2 separate regions of the Homo sapiens genome follow, and region 2 is linked to region 1. The links are contacts of gene promoters, found by promoter capture Hi-C in human tissues and cell types (Jung and others, 2019). All regions are on one chromosome and are shown on one strand. The core of a region is centred on a gene start or on the middle of the fragment in contact, and the rest is flanking DNA. Distances in the headings are between cores, read along the strand shown. Region 1 holds the start of FAM50B (family with sequence similarity 50 member B). Region 2 has its middle 41 kb from the start of FAM50B.

The links. The method cuts DNA at HindIII sites, captures the fragments that hold promoters and counts their contacts. A contact is called where the count stands out against the background at its distance.
Region 2: a contact is called between a fragment that was not itself captured here and the fragment with the promoter of FAM50B in region 1, in 2 of the 25 tissues and cell types used here (bladder and thymus).

Annotation. Positions count from the first base shown.
Region 1 is chr6:3,844,215-3,851,467 of GRCh38, forward strand. It overlaps FAM50B (family with sequence similarity 50 member B), which reads left to right and starts at 5,159. Exons shown (of 2, transcript NM_012135.3): 1 at 5,159-5,272; 2 at 5,575-7,103. The coding sequence starts at 5,598. The coding sequence ends at 6,575. LOC107986557 (a long non-coding RNA gene) reads right to left here and starts at 5,152. Exons shown (of 3, transcript XR_001743931.2): 1 at 5,102-5,152; 2 at 4,175-4,435; 3 at 474-1,878. RefSeq lists a silencer at 4,833-4,952 and an enhancer at 5,223-5,342. The HindIII fragment of the contact is 6,203 bases long and covers 1,328-7,253 here.
Region 2 is chr6:3,804,604-3,812,404 of GRCh38, forward strand. No RefSeq gene overlaps it. Among named protein-coding and RNA genes, the nearest start is that of FAM50B, 41 kb to the right of the region's middle. RefSeq lists enhancers at 5,163-5,663, 5,664-6,164. The HindIII fragment of the contact is 5,320 bases long and covers 449-5,768 here.

The sequences.
Region 1 (7,253 bases), core at 3,909-6,408:
CTTTGTGACTAAGCCTGGAGGAGGGCACATTTTTTTCTAAATTAGTTTGTGTATTTAATCGGCATTTCTGAGTCACTAGAACAGAATGCTGCTCCCTCTCCTCTGTTGTATTATTGCTATTGATACTTTTATTTATTTATTTATTTTTTAACAATAGAATGTACCACATTTATTTAAATCAATGACTATGATGATTATATAAAAACAAGAATAATACCGGGCGAGGTGGCTCACGCCTGTAATCCCAGCACTTTGGGAGGCCGAGGAGGGCAGATCACCTGAGGTCAGGAGTTTGAGACCAGCCTGACCAACATGGCAAAACCCCGTCTCTACTAAAAATACAAAAATTAGCCGGGCGTGGTGGTGGGCGCCTGTAATCCCAACTACTCGGGAGGCTGAGGCAGGAGAATCACTTGAACCCAGCCGGCGGAGGTTGCAGTGGGCCGAGATCGCACCATTGCACTACTCCAGCCTGGAAGACAGAGCCAGACTCCGTCTCAAAAACAAAAACAGAAAAAAAAACTTAAATGGAAAAAAAGTCATCAAATGGGATGCAAAGTTTGATTAAAATTGCTAAATATATACAGATCTATGTGCACATAAAATATTGGAAGGGAACTTGCAAACATTAATAGTTATGTTACTTATGTGTTCATGTTGAGTGAACTTTTTATTTATTTACATTTCTTTTCAAACTTTTCTGTAATATGCCTATTTCCTCCTTTATGACAAAACCTATTGGAAAAACAAACCATAATGTCTCAATCAGGGAAGAATAACTAGAACAATCATTCTTTTTTGTTCTATTTATTCTTCTTTCTTAAAGTTTCACCATTTGCGTGGGCTCGGGTCCTCAGCCTCATTTTGCTGATAAAATTTAAGAGCTTAAAGCAGTAGCTTTTAGTTTTGTGGGTATTTTCGCTGAGAATTAAGGCTGAAAGAGGAAGTTATCATCTTGGAACTTAGGGGAAAATTCTACAGAACAGTATATCAGACTTTTAGGATAAATCTCCTTCTTTCTAGTTGTTTTTCTTGTTAAACTTTTCTGAGAATTTGAGGCTCAACCTTTTAATTCTGGGAGCTGGCTATAGTATTTGGAGGCCGTGACTGAGTTCAGGAGGTGGATGCTGGATAATGGGAGGGTGGATGATAAGGTTTAGGGATGATATTGACATTCAAGTTCTGATTCGATTAGAGAAAGAGTGAATATAGTATTTGTGGCCAAACGATAGTCGATTGAATTAAAGTTTAGTTGGTTGGATCATTTAACTGAAAAAAAGAGGTGGAGAGGCTATCTTATTTATGTTAAGTGTAATAAAGGTAATTATATGGGAAACCTGAGAGAGGAGACTATTGGTAATTTTGTCCATCTGTGGGTGGTGATGGTGATGGTGGGTGCTCCAGGCTTCCTCTTGGAGATGACATTTGTGCTGATCTTCAGGGATAGCACAGCGAAGGGCAGGACTTTCTAGAAAGAGTACGTCCAGAGGTAACAGTTATGAAAGGGCAACTTTTTTTTTAGATGAAGTCTTTCTGGGTCACCAGGCTGGAGTGCAGTGGTGCGATCTTGGCTCACTGCAACCTCCATCTCCTGGGTTGAAGCAATTCTTCTGCCTCAGCCTCCCGAGCAGCTGGGACTACAAGGCATGCACCACCACACCCAGCTAATTTTTTTTATTTTTATTTTTATTAGAGACGGGGTTTCACCATGTTGGCCAGGATGGTCTCGATCTCTTGACCTCGTGATCCACCCGCCTCGGCCTCCCAAAGTGCTGGGATTACAGGTGTGAGCCACTGCGCCTGGCCTGAAAGGGCATCTTCTATTCAGGCGCAGTGAAAAAGCTGGGTGAATGCTGCAGGGGTCCACCTATTAGAGACCTTAGAGGACAAACAAAGAGATTCTGATGTGGCTGTTACAAGGGAAGTTGGAGTTTTTCAAGTAGGAGAGTAATGTTATCAGATTCATTTTTTATGAAGATCTCTGAGGATATTGTATAGAAGTTAGACAAGAACAAGAATACAGGCATACCTCGGAGATACTGTGGGTTCAGTTCCAGACCACCACAAAGACAGTCACACAAATTTTTAAATTTTCTAGTGCATATAAAAGTTATGTTTATACTATACTATAGTCTAGTAAGTGTGCAGTAGCATTTTGTCTAAGAAAATAATGTGCATAATTTCATTAAAAATACTTAATTGCTAAATAATGCTAATGATCCTCTGAGCATTCAGTGAGCTGTGCTCTATTTGCTGGTGGAGGGTCTTGCCTCAGTGTTGATGGTTGCTGACTGATCAGGGTGGTGGTTGCCAAAGGCTGGGCCTGTGGCAGTTTCTTAAATCAATATTGAGTTTGTCACATTGATTGATTCTACCTTTCACGAAAGATTTCTTTGTAACATGTAATGCTGTTTGAATCAACTTCTTCCAAACTTCTGTTAATGTTGATATTTTACCTCCTCCCAAAAACTGTGAATGTCCTTCATGGCACCTACAGTGGTGAATGCCTTCCAGAAAAATTTCAATTTACTTTGCCCAGATCCATCAGAGAAATCATTACATACAGCAGCTATAACCTTTGGAAATGTATTTCTTAAATAATAAGACTTAAAAGTCAAAATTACTCCTTGATCTATGGGTTGCAGAATGGATGTTGTGTTAGCAAGCATGAAATCAACTTTAATCTCCTTGAGCATCTCCATCAAGCTCTTAGGTGACCAAGTGCATTGTTAATGAGTAATAATATCTTGAAAGGAATAATCAGAGCAGTAAGTCTCAACACTGGGCTTAAAAATATTCAGTAAACCATGCTGTAAACAGATGTGCTGTCCTCCAGGTTTTGTTGTTCCATTTACAGAGCACAGGCACAGTAGATTTAGCATAATTTTTAAGGGCACTAAGATTTTCAGAATGGTAAGTGAGCATTGGCTTCAACTGAAAGTCTCCAGCTACACTAGCCCCTAGCAAGAGAGTCAACCTGTCCTTTGAAGCCATGAAGCCAGGCATTGACTTCTCCTCTCTAGATATAAAAGTCCTAAATGGCATCTTCTTCCAATAGAAGGCTATTTTGTCTACATTGAAAATGTATTGTTTAGGGTAGCCTCCGTCATCAGTGCTCTTAGCTAGATCTTCTGGATAACCTGCTGCAGCTTCTCCATCACACTTGCTGCTTCACCTTGCACTTTATGTTATAGAGGTGACTTCCTTCCTCAGCCTCATGAACCAACCTCTGCTACCTTCAGACTTTTCTTCTGAAGCTTCCTCACCTCTCTCAGCTTCACAGAATTGAAGAGACTTAGGGCCTTGCCCTGGATTAGGCTTTGGTTTAAGGGAATGTCGTGGCTGGTTTGATCTTCTATCCAGACCACTAGAACTTTCTCCATATAAGCAATAAGGCTGTTTTGCTTTCTTATCATTCATATGTTTACCAGGAAAGCGCTTTCAGTTTCATTCAAGATTTTTTTCCTTTGCATTCACAACTTAGCTAACTGTTTGGCAAAAGAGGCCTAGCTTTTGGCCTATCCTGGCTTTTGACATACTTTCCTCACTGAGCTGAATCATTTCTAGCCTTTGATTTAAAGTGAGAGACGTGTGACACTTCTTTTCACTTGAACACTTAGAGGCCATTGTAGGGTTATTAATTGGCCTAATTTCAATATTGCTGTGTCTCAGGCACTAGGGAAGCCTAGGGACAGGAAGAGAGATGAAGGAACAGCCAGTCAGTGGAGCAGTCAGAACATACATAACATTTATCAGTTAAATCAATAAACGTCTTTGTCTTCTACTGCACACTTCGGAGTGCCCCCAAACAATTACAATAACCTCACAGAACGATGATCACAGATCACCATAGCAGATATCACAATGAAAAAGTCTGAAATATTGCAAGAATTACCAAAATGTGACACAGGAACACGAAGTGAGCACATGCTGCTGGAAAAATGGAGCCAGTAGGCGCTTGACGCTGTGTTGCCACAAATCTTCAATTTGTAAAAACAAAAACAAAACACACAGTATCCCAGAGCTCAATAAAATAAGATATTCTTGTATTCTGGTGATGGGGCAACAATGAGAAGGCTTTAGATTAAAAAAAATGCTAATTTCCTAGATTAAGGCAAGTGGTGGGGAATGGGAGAAAAAGGAAAGTGTGAAAGGCTCTTCTGTAATTGATTACCTGTGGAGGAACGTCATTCCAGGAAAAGGCCTAGGTTTCTGGCTTGGACAATTTGATGAGGGCTCACACCGTGCTGTTCTCCTCTGGATATGTGGGTGCCATATGTAATTATCATATGATTCACGCTTCTTGGTAAGGTTATGCTCACAGGCATTGTTGCTCTTAGGCGGGAGGAGGCTGAACCGCAGTATGTATTTCACAACCAGCTTTTCCAAACTAGGTCCCAGGAAGCACTGGTTTCGGCGAGTGTTACCAGATCTCCTGCAGGGGAGAAACGGTCACGAAACATGAACTGGTCTGCCCTGCTCTTGGAGAGTTACAGTGGAAACTGGCATGTTAGAGGCTCACAGTAAAGACACTGCTACACTTTAACTCAGTGTCCCATGGTTATTAGAGCTTAGAACCCGGGGGAAACTGCTGTATAGAAGAGGTCAAACAAGCTGAGTGCAGGTTTTGTCACGAAACTGGGGGGCGAGTAGGGTTCTATTATCAAAGAATGGTTGTGTTGGGGCCATAAGAAAGAATTACAGGCAGTGGTGCGCAGGTAATGTTCACGAGACGCCACAGCGGGGTAGCATCAGAGGCGGGAGGAGGAGGGTTGGAGAGCAGGGCCGTGTTGCAAGGCTCTCTGGGTGGCCACAGCAGCTTGCGCTGCGCCCACATTGCTTCTGCGTGTTTACAGTTGGGCACGAGAAGGCTCAGCACGCACGCACAGCAGGTGGGGGCCCGCCCTGCCCACAGCGTGAAAACAGGAGCCCCGGCCAGCCACGGCTGGGCAGGGCCAGAAGCGCCTCCTCCAGGATCCTCCCCGCGCTGGCCCGCCCCACAGGAGCACCGCCCCTACCAGGAGCCCGGAGCTCTTCCCAGGGCCCGCCTCCCCGCCAGGGGGCGATCCACCTCCACTTCCTGTTTCCGCAGCCGCCCTACCAGGAGCCTGGCACTCTCCTCAGGGCCCGCCTCCCCGCCAGGGGGCGCACCGCCTCCACTTCCTGTGTCCACGGCTGTCGCGAGAGCCCGGGGCGAGTGGGCCTCTGCTCGTGGGTGGTTCTCGTGGAGGTCAGCTCCCGCGTGTCTCCGCTCGACAGGGTGCTTGGGCAGGTAAGGGTCCGCTCAGTAGCCCAACCCTCTCTGTATGCAGCTCCCCAAATTCAGCGCTGCGCTCAGGCATGGCAGCCACCCGTTACGTGGGGCCGTTCGCATTTGCATTTATTGAGGTCAAATAAAATGCTGGAAATTGGTGCCTGGTGACACTGTCAGGTTGGTGGTTACCCTAGCAGGTCGGCCCAGCCCCTGAACGCTTCCATCACTGCCGAAAGCCCTGTGAGGAGGCGCAGAGCTGAGCATTCCCCGCCGTTGCGTGGGCCCCCCTCTACCTGCCGCGTTTTTCCTCTTTGCTGCAGAGCCCATCGGGTAGGCGCGGGCCATGGCGCAGTACAAGGGCACCATGCGCGAGGCAGGCCGTGCCATGCACCTCCTCAAGAAGCGCGAAAGGCAGCGGGAGCAGATGGAGGTGCTGAAGCAGCGCATCGCCGAGGAGACCATCCTCAAGTCGCAGGTGGACAAGAGGTTCTCGGCGCATTACGACGCCGTGGAGGCCGAGCTGAAGTCCAGCACGGTGGGCCTGGTGACCCTGAACGACATGAAGGCCCGGCAGGAGGCCCTGGTCAGGGAGCGCGAGCGGCAGCTGGCCAAGCGCCAGCACCTGGAGGAGCAGCGGCTGCAGCAGGAGCGGCAGCGGGAGCAGGAGCAGCGGCGCGAGCGCAAGCGTAAGATCTCCTGCCTGTCCTTTGCACTAGACGACCTCGATGACCAGGCCGACGCGGCCGAGGCCAGGCGCGCCGGAAACCTGGGCAAGAACCCCGACGTGGACACCAGCTTCCTGCCAGACCGCGACCGCGAGGAGGAGGAGAACCGGCTCCGAGAGGAGCTGCGCCAAGAGTGGGAGGCGCAGCGCGAGAAAGTGAAGGACGAGGAGATGGAGGTCACCTTCAGCTACTGGGACGGCTCGGGCCACCGGCGCACGGTGCGGGTGCGCAAGGGCAACACGGTGCAGCAGTTCCTGAAGAAGGCGCTGCAGGGGCTGCGCAAGGACTTCCTGGAGCTGCGCTCCGCCGGCGTGGAGCAGCTCATGTTCATCAAGGAGGACCTCATCCTGCCGCACTACCACACCTTCTACGACTTCATCATCGCCAGGGCGAGGGGCAAGAGCGGGCCGCTCTTCAGCTTCGATGTGCACGATGACGTGCGCCTGCTCAGCGACGCCACCATGGAGAAGGACGAGTCGCACGCGGGCAAGGTGGTGCTGCGCAGCTGGTACGAGAAGAACAAGCACATCTTCCCCGCCAGCCGCTGGGAGGCCTATGACCCCGAGAAGAAGTGGGACAAGTACACCATCCGCTAACACCCGCCTGCCAGAGCGGAAACCGGGGGTGGGGGGAGACACTCATTTCTAGGCCCCATCACCAGTCACTTGATTTCGTGACCTTGATTTCTTCCCCCAAATTTAATAAAGACAGAGGGTTCTCATGATTCACATTGGTTGTGCTATTGCTGATGTTATGCTTTGGTTGCTTGGTTGGTCTTTTCTGAGTATTTTAGTGTTGCCACCTGGATTTGCTGCATTGCTCTGCTGAGCTGTATTGAAACCATGACTGGGCCCACTGTCAGACAGAAATTAGAATAGGAGGCACATTTTTTACCTGGTGGTTATGAGCATGGACTTGGGGGCCACAGTGACTGAGTTTGATTCCCGACACAGCCTCCTCCTTGCTGTGTAGTTTTGGGTAAGCTTATTAAACCCCCATGCCTCAGTTTGGTCACCTGTAAAAGGAAATAACAAGAGCACTTACTTTATAAGATTGATGTGAGTATTAAGTGAATTAATATTTGTAAAACGCTTAGCTCTTAATAAATGTTTCTGTTGTTATTATTATGGTTTTGGTTAATTTATTTAAAGGACTGCAATGACCTAGTTCAGAACCATTTGAGGGCAAAGGTGGACCTGCCCATCACTGGTCCCAGGATCAGCAGTTGCCAGCAGGAGGGGGCTAGCAAAGGTTGGGGAGCAGCCCCCCTCTAG
Region 2 (7,801 bases), core at 1,859-4,358, 42 kb before region 1:
GCCTCCCGAGTAGCTGGGACTACAGGCGCCCGCCACCACGCCCGGCTAATTTTTTGTACTTTTAGTAGAGATGAGGTTTCACCGTGTTAGCCAGGATGGTCTCGATCTCCTGACCTCGTGATCCACCCGTCTTGGCCTCCCAAAGTGCTGGGATTACAGGCGTGAGCCACCGCGCCCAGCCAGCCTCTTGATGGATTGTAAAAATCATTCATTCTTAACTGGGGGAAATTTTCCCCTTGGGGGCATTTAGCAATATCTGAATACATTTTTAATTGCCATGATTGATTGGGGGTGGTCCTGGTGCTACTAGCTCTAGTGGGTAGAGGCCGAGGACACGCTCCCCATCCTGTTATGCCCAGGACAGCACCCACAACATGGAAGCATGTAGTCTAAAGTGTTGGTAGTACTGCGATTGAGAAACTGATGTAACTCAAACATCCCATATTGGTTAGCACTTCAACATATCTTGTAGGGGGATACAGTTCAATCTATAACAGATCTCCCATTTAATTTTATTCTGGCCTTACCCCAAGTTAGACATCTGAATCATTACAGTGATGATAAATGGTTGCTCAAATGCAAGGCAGTTTTACTTGGAGGCATGGATGAAAGCTAGATGTAACAGGAAATGAGAAGCCTCTATTTTAAATATTGAATCTGTTAAAATCTTTTTTTTGTTTTTTTGTTTTTTTTCTTTTGAGATGGAGTCTCACTCTGTTGACCAGGCTGGAGTGCAATGGCATGATCTCGGCTCACTGCAACCTCCGCCTCCCAGGTTCAAGTACTTCTCCTGCCTCAACCTCCCGAGTAGCTGAGATTACAGGAGCGTGCCACCATGCCCAACTAATTTTTTATATTTTTTGGTAGAGACAGGGTTTCACCATGTTGGCCATGCTGGTCTCGAACTCCTGACCTCAAGTGATCCACCTGCCTTGACCTCCCAAAGTACTGGGATTACAGGCCTGAGTCACCACACCTGGCCTAAATAATGAATCGTAGTCACTGATTTTTATGAACCACTACAGCAAACAAAAAAACTAACAGTGCTGGACGCAGATGTGTAGAAAAGGTCCAATATCATGTTGTATAATTAGGAAATGCCACTTTATTAGAAAAAATGCCATGTCCCATGAAATCGGGGACTGCATCTCTTTGTTCATGGCAGTATCACCAGCACTTAGAGTGGGGACTGGCACACAGTAAGTGCTCAATGAATACTTTTTGGGTGAATTAGAGTCTCAGGGAGGAATTTTGAGGAAAATCCTTACCTCAGAGGCCTCGCCCCCTACTACTCAAAACGGAAATGACTCCAACTCCCTTTCCGGGATGTCATGGAAGTTGTGTTTACGAGTATGAATTGCTACATGTGCAGATTACAGAGGAGAAGCTTGTGTGTGTGTGAAGAGTACAAAGTATTACTCAGATCACACATAAACATACACATAATTATACAGTGCTCACTTTTGTAAACCTCCTAAGATAATAGTGAAGAGGACACAGGCTAAAAATGGGAAGTCTAAACGGAAGGGCCAGACAAGTGCTCAAAGGAAAATGATCTGTAGAAGTAAGAAGGGCTGTTTGTGAAGCCAGGACCAGGGGTGCAGACAGGAGCCCAGGAGGCTCCACAGCCACCGCTGCAGCCGAGGTCGTCCTCCCGGCCATGCCCTCTGTCTTCCAACTCCAGCCTCGTCTGGAATCCCCCTCCTCTACACCACACTCCTCTGGGAGGTGGTCTCCTTTCTTCCTGCCCAGCACCTTTATGTTCTTTAACTCAAAAGGCAGTGGAAAGAGAAGACAAGGGCCCTAAGAGAGACCTGGGGAACTCGGAAGCCTTTGACTTTGTTCTCAGTAATTCTTAGTTGGCCTTGGGTTAATCTGTTGGCAACAAAGTCCAACGCAGCAGTGATAAAGAACTTTCCCACTGTGTCAAGCAAGGCCTTTGAAAAAGCAGGGCTGGGACAATCCCTGGGAAGGCACACAGGGGACAGCCCTGCGTCTCACAGCCTGTCCAGTGGCCCCCACTTGCTCACGATGGCCCGTGCCAGGTCTCAGGACACCCACCCCCTTCCATTCTGTCATGTCTAAAGTGTCTGACCCAAAGACTAACCTCCCCTGGAGTTCAGGAAGACTCCACTCTACAGACGCAGCTGACCAACGTTCCAGGCAGGAGCAGCCAGTTCAATCTCGTGTCCCCTGGGCTGCCGTCTCTGCCTCAGCGGCTACCTTGGAATCTCACCCTCCCAAGGGAGTCCCACCCCACTGGGGCTTCTGAGCCCCCCTTAGACTCAGCAGGGCTCTAAAAGCAGGGGTTGAAGCATATTAGAGTTTTGCGACAAGTAATAATAACAATAAATGTAAACCTAATTATGGGCCTACCACTGTTCTAAGAACTTTATACGTGGCCGGGTGCGGTAGCTCACGCCTGTAATCCCAGCACTTTGGGAGGCTGAGGTGGGCGGATCACCTGAGGTCAGGATTTTGAGACCAGTCTGGCTAACATGCTGAAACCCCATCTCCACTAAAAATGCAAAAATTAGCTGGGCATGGTGGCAGTTGCCTGTAATCCCAGCTATTCAGGAGGCTGAGGCAGGAGAATTGCTTGAACCCAGGAGACAGAAATTGCAGTGGGCTGACATCTCGCCACTGTACTCCAGCCTGGGTGACAGAGCGAGACTCCATTTCAAAAAAAGAAAAGAGAAGAACTTTACACACATAAATCCATGTCATCCTCCCAATAACCCTGAGACAGGCATCTATATCAGCGTCCCCACTTTTCAGATGAGGAAACTGAGGCAGATGTCAAAGCGCTACTTGACACAGCTAGCAATTAAATAGTAAAAAGATAGTAGTGAAAAGATAATTAGTAAAAAGATTAAATACATTTTTGTGGGTTTGTTTGAAAAGTTAATCTTCCATTTATGATACTGTTTCTACAGAAAATGCTTTTGAATTTCAAACAATTACTTCCTAAAAAACTTTGAACCAAAGTCAAGCCTAGGCCTTCATACCCATATTTTAATAGCGGTGTTTTGGGCTTCATAGTACCTTGGCAAGAAGAGCCTTCCTTCTGCCCCCCAACTCCTACCACACAGCCGCCACCTCCTCCCACACCTCCTCCCCTGTGTCTCCCCCACCCCACAGCCTGGACACACTTCCATTAGAAAGTACTTGAACTTTTTTTTTTTTTTAGACAGAGTCTTGCTTTGTCACCCAGGCTGGAGTGCAGCAGTGCAATCTCGGCTCACTGCAACCTCTGCCTCCTGGGTTCAACCAATTCTCCTGCCTCAGCCTCCTAAGTAGCTGGGACTACAGGCGCACACCACCACGACCAGCTAATTTTTGCATTTTTTAGTAGAGACGGTGTTTCACCATGTTGGCCAGGCTGGCCTCAAACTCCTGACCTCAGGTGATCCACCCACCTCGGCCTCCCAAAGTGCTGGGATTACAGGGGTGAGCCATCACTCATGCAGATACATCTTTGCAAGAACAGATCTTAATGGAAGAAATTACCATAAAATTATCCTAAAGTTTGCCAAAATGATGAAGTAAGAATTACTCAATTTTTTTACAATAATAAGAAAGTCTGGAAGCCGCAGCATCTCCTTAGGAGTTATAAGTAGAATAAATGAAAGCTTCAAGAGGGAAGCCAATGGCAGGATCCCAGGTGGGTGGGGAGGGGGAGGCGGATGAAAGCTGATTACAAACATGTCCAGTAGCAAGTGGGAGTGGGCAGCCTGAGCCAGGAATTCCCAAAAGGTTGAGGGAGTTGAACAGAAATGGGTGAAGGGTCAGAACCCAGTCGCTGGGTCAGATTATAGTAATGTCTTCCTGTGTTAGAAAGAGTGATTCATTATTTTCAAAGGAATGGATAGAAGAGGCCATCCTTCCACACATCTGGGACCCAGTCTTCTTTATGGTAAAGAAAGGTTGGACATCACTCTTTGAGCCCTTTCAGCTTAGAGTCTGTGAGTCGGAAGAGTTTGTCCATGAGCAGAGACACTAGAACCAAGCCACATACAAACACGTTTTCATAGTGTTTGGAGAATGTATTGCTTGCATATTATGGCTTCAAAGTCAAAATACAACTCCAGAGGACAAACAATTTAGTAGATTCATGAAAAAGCAAGTGAACCTGCTGTAGGATTGGCAATGCATTGAGGAGGCCAGCCTAGTGGGCTCTGGCAGGAGGAAGAGCTCAGCAGACAGGGCAGGGGGCAGTGTCTGTTCAGCATGATGCTATCTGGGGCTGACCAGAATGGCTTCATGAGTGTGTCTGGGTGTGCACATGTGTGTGTGAGTACGTGAGTGTGCGTGCACACGTGCTTGCTGCAGTTACTCACTACAGTGCTTGTTTTTGCCAAGTTCTCAGCTCCCGAGCTGGTGCCTGTGAAGCTGGTGCGGTCTGCAGATGAGTTTTCTGTTTGGGCTCCTGGAGGCTCCAGCTGTGCCAAGCTAGGGTATGGCCACTGGTGACTAAGCAGAGAAGCATGTGTCCAGCTGGGTGTGCCTCTCTGGACAGCTGCAGAGAGAAATAATAGGCTTCTTTGCCTGCAGGACAAGCCCCTTGTCAGTCTGCAAAGAAGTGGCTGGTTCCTCAGCCAGCCACAGGGAGACCCTGAGGTGTAGAGAAGAACCTCTCCAACCCTGGGGAGCTAAGGGAATGTTCTGTAGCGTCACAGGGGAGATTATTCAGGCTACCCAAGCTGTACAGCATGGCTGGAGGGAACATACAGACATCCCTCAGCATCCCAGGGGGATTGGTTCCAGGACTCCGTGCAGATACAAAACTATGGGTGTTCAAGATGCTTATGAAATCACAGAGTCTTTACATACATCCTATGCACATCCTCCTATATACTTTATTTATTTAATTAATTTATTTATGTATTATTTTTATTTTTTAGAGAAGGATTTCACTCTATCCCCTGGGCTGGAGTACAGTGGTGTGATCATAGCTCACAGTAGCCCCAATCTCCTGAGCTCAGGCAATCCTTCCCCCTCTGCCTTCTGAGTAGCTGTGACTACAGGCCCACAGCAACATGCTTGCCTAATTTGTGTACTTTTTGTGGAGATGGGATCTTGCTATGTTGCCCAGGCTGTTCTCGAACTCCTGGCCTCAAGTGATCCTCCTGCCTTGGCCTCCCACAGTGCTCTCCTGTATACTTTAAATCATCTCTACAGTACTTCTAATACTTAAGACAACACAAATGCTGTGTAAATAATTGTTATACTGTGTTTTTTTGTTTGTATTAATTTTATTGTATTGTTATTTTAATTTTTTTCCCAAATATTTTTTATGCGTGGTCAGTTAAATCTGAGGATGTGGAACCTGCAGATTTAGAGGATGGACTCGACCTGTGTGGTCATCACCTGGACTGTCCAGCCTGCTTCAGTGCATTGCTACATGCCCATTCCCAAAACTGATACTGGAGCACTCCACCAGGCCACCTAGTCAAGGTTACAGCTTGACTCCCTGTGGCCAGGAGTCCCCAACTACACATAGCCATGGGGCAGGGGAGAGAAAAGCAGGCCTTCTCGGCGACACTGCCCACCCACCATGTTCCTCGGCCCGCCGCAGCCGCAGCTATCCTTAACCCCTCCTTGCAAGCTCTGTGTTTATAGTCTTGATCTCAGCCTAGGGGACTTCATTCAAAGCCCAGGCCCTTGGGCACGGTGGCTCACGTCTGTAATCCCAGCACTTTGGGAGGCCAAGGCAGGCAGATTACCTGAGGTCAGGAGTTCAAGATGAGCCTGGCCAACATGGCAAAACCCCGTCTCTACTAAAATACAAAAAATAGCCAGGTGTGGTGGCACATGCCTGTAATCCCAGCTACCCGGGAGGCTGAGGCAGGAGAATTGCTTGAACCTGGGAGGCAGAGGCAGCAACGGGCTGAGATTGCGCTACTGCACTACAGCCTGGGAGACAGAGTGAGACTCCGTCTCAAACAAACAAACAACAACAACAACAAAAACAGGCCCTGAGTTTAGTAGCTGAATCTTGCCGTATTTCTTACACCTAAGTTCTCAGCCCTATTAACTGAGCTCCCAGGAAGTTTGCTCCCATCACGGTTCCCAGGATGGACACCTTGTTCCCCAATGGCTTGACCCATTCTCCCTCAGCCTTCCCGGGATCTGCGTGGGGTCTCCTTTGCCACTGCTGGGCTTTCCTGTGTCACTTGCTGCCCCTGGCGCCTCTGCCTCCATCCCAAGTCATAGCTTTCTCTGTGGCCTGCCCTCCATGGTGTGAACACTGCCCACTCACAGTCCCTGGGTGTTCTGCGTCCTGCTCCAGCTCAACTTTTCCGCTGCCCTCTTTTGCCATGCTCTGGGGCAACACCAGACTTGTCACCGGTTGCTATGGTCTGAACGTGTCCCTTTAAATTCCCGTGTTGGAAACTTAATCCCCAGTGCAGCAATGTGGGAAGCTACAGCCTTTTGGGAGGTGGTTGTGTCACAAGGGCTCCACACTCATGGATGGATTAATGTAGCTCTAAAAAGGGCTTGTGGGAGTGGGTTCACTCTCTCTTCCCCTTTCACCTTCTCCCATGTGAGGACACACAAGAAGGCTCTCACCAGATGTCACCGCCTTGATTTGGGACTTCCTAGCCTCCAGGAGAATGAAGAAGTAATGTTCTGTTTTTCATAAATTACCCAGTCTCAGGTATTCTGTTTTAGAGCACAAAACAGACACTGGCATTCTTCATGCTACCGTGCCCTCCATGTGGCTCCTAGCCAAGGCTGTCCACAATGCAGCCTTGTGATGCCTTGGGATGCAGGGTCACCCTGCCATCACTATGTGTGCCAGCCCTCCAGCTGGCTACTTTCTGGGTTCCTCCATGGGTCAGGCAGGAACTTCAGCACATCCTGCATATGATGCAGGAGCTGCAGGACGCTTGGTGGGGTGCTCCACTCTGGCCCTCCCTTCTACCCCACCATGCTGCCTCACCCTACTTACTGCAACTGTGGGCAGTCAGCCAGTGTTTTAGCGCATTGGGCTGCTATAACAAATTACCATGGACTGGGTGGCTTATAAACAACAAAAAGTGATTTCTCACTGTGCTGGAGGCTGGGAAGCCCAAGGTCAAGGTGCTAGCAGATTCTCAGGGTTCTGGTGGTCGGAAATCTGAGATCAGGGCTGCCAGCATTGGGTTCTGGCGAGGGCCCTCTCTGTGGCTTGTAAGTGGCCATATCCTTGCTGTGCCCCCACATATTGGCGGACTGGGAAGCAGGGAGAGAGCGAGCAAACTCTCCAGTATCCATTGTTATAAGAGCACTAAATCCCATCATGGGAACCCTGCCTGCATGCCTCATCTAAACCTGACTGTCTCTCAAAGGCCCCGTCTCCAAACACCATCGCACTGGGGGTTAGGGCTTCAATGTGTGAATTTTAGGGGGATACATGCAGTTCATAACGAACGTCTACCTTGCAGGGCTGTTGTGAGGATTAAAGAGATAGTGCCTTGGCCGGATGCAGTGGCTCACGCCTGTAATCCCAGCACTTCGGGAGGCTGCAGGCGGATCACTTGAGGTCAGGAGTTTGAGACAACCTGGCCAACATGGTGAAACCCTGTCTCTACCAAAAATATAAAAAAATTAGCCGAGTGTGGTGGTGCACGCCTATAATCCAAACTACTCGGGAGGCTGAGGCAGGAGAATCACTTGAACCTGGGAGGTGGAGGTTGCAGTGAGCTGAGATTGTGCCACTGCACTCCAGCCTGGTGATAGAGCGAGACCCTGTCTCCAAAAAAAAAAAAAAAGAGAGAGATAGTGCCTCTCCTATAGTGAGCATTGCCTTCCTCCA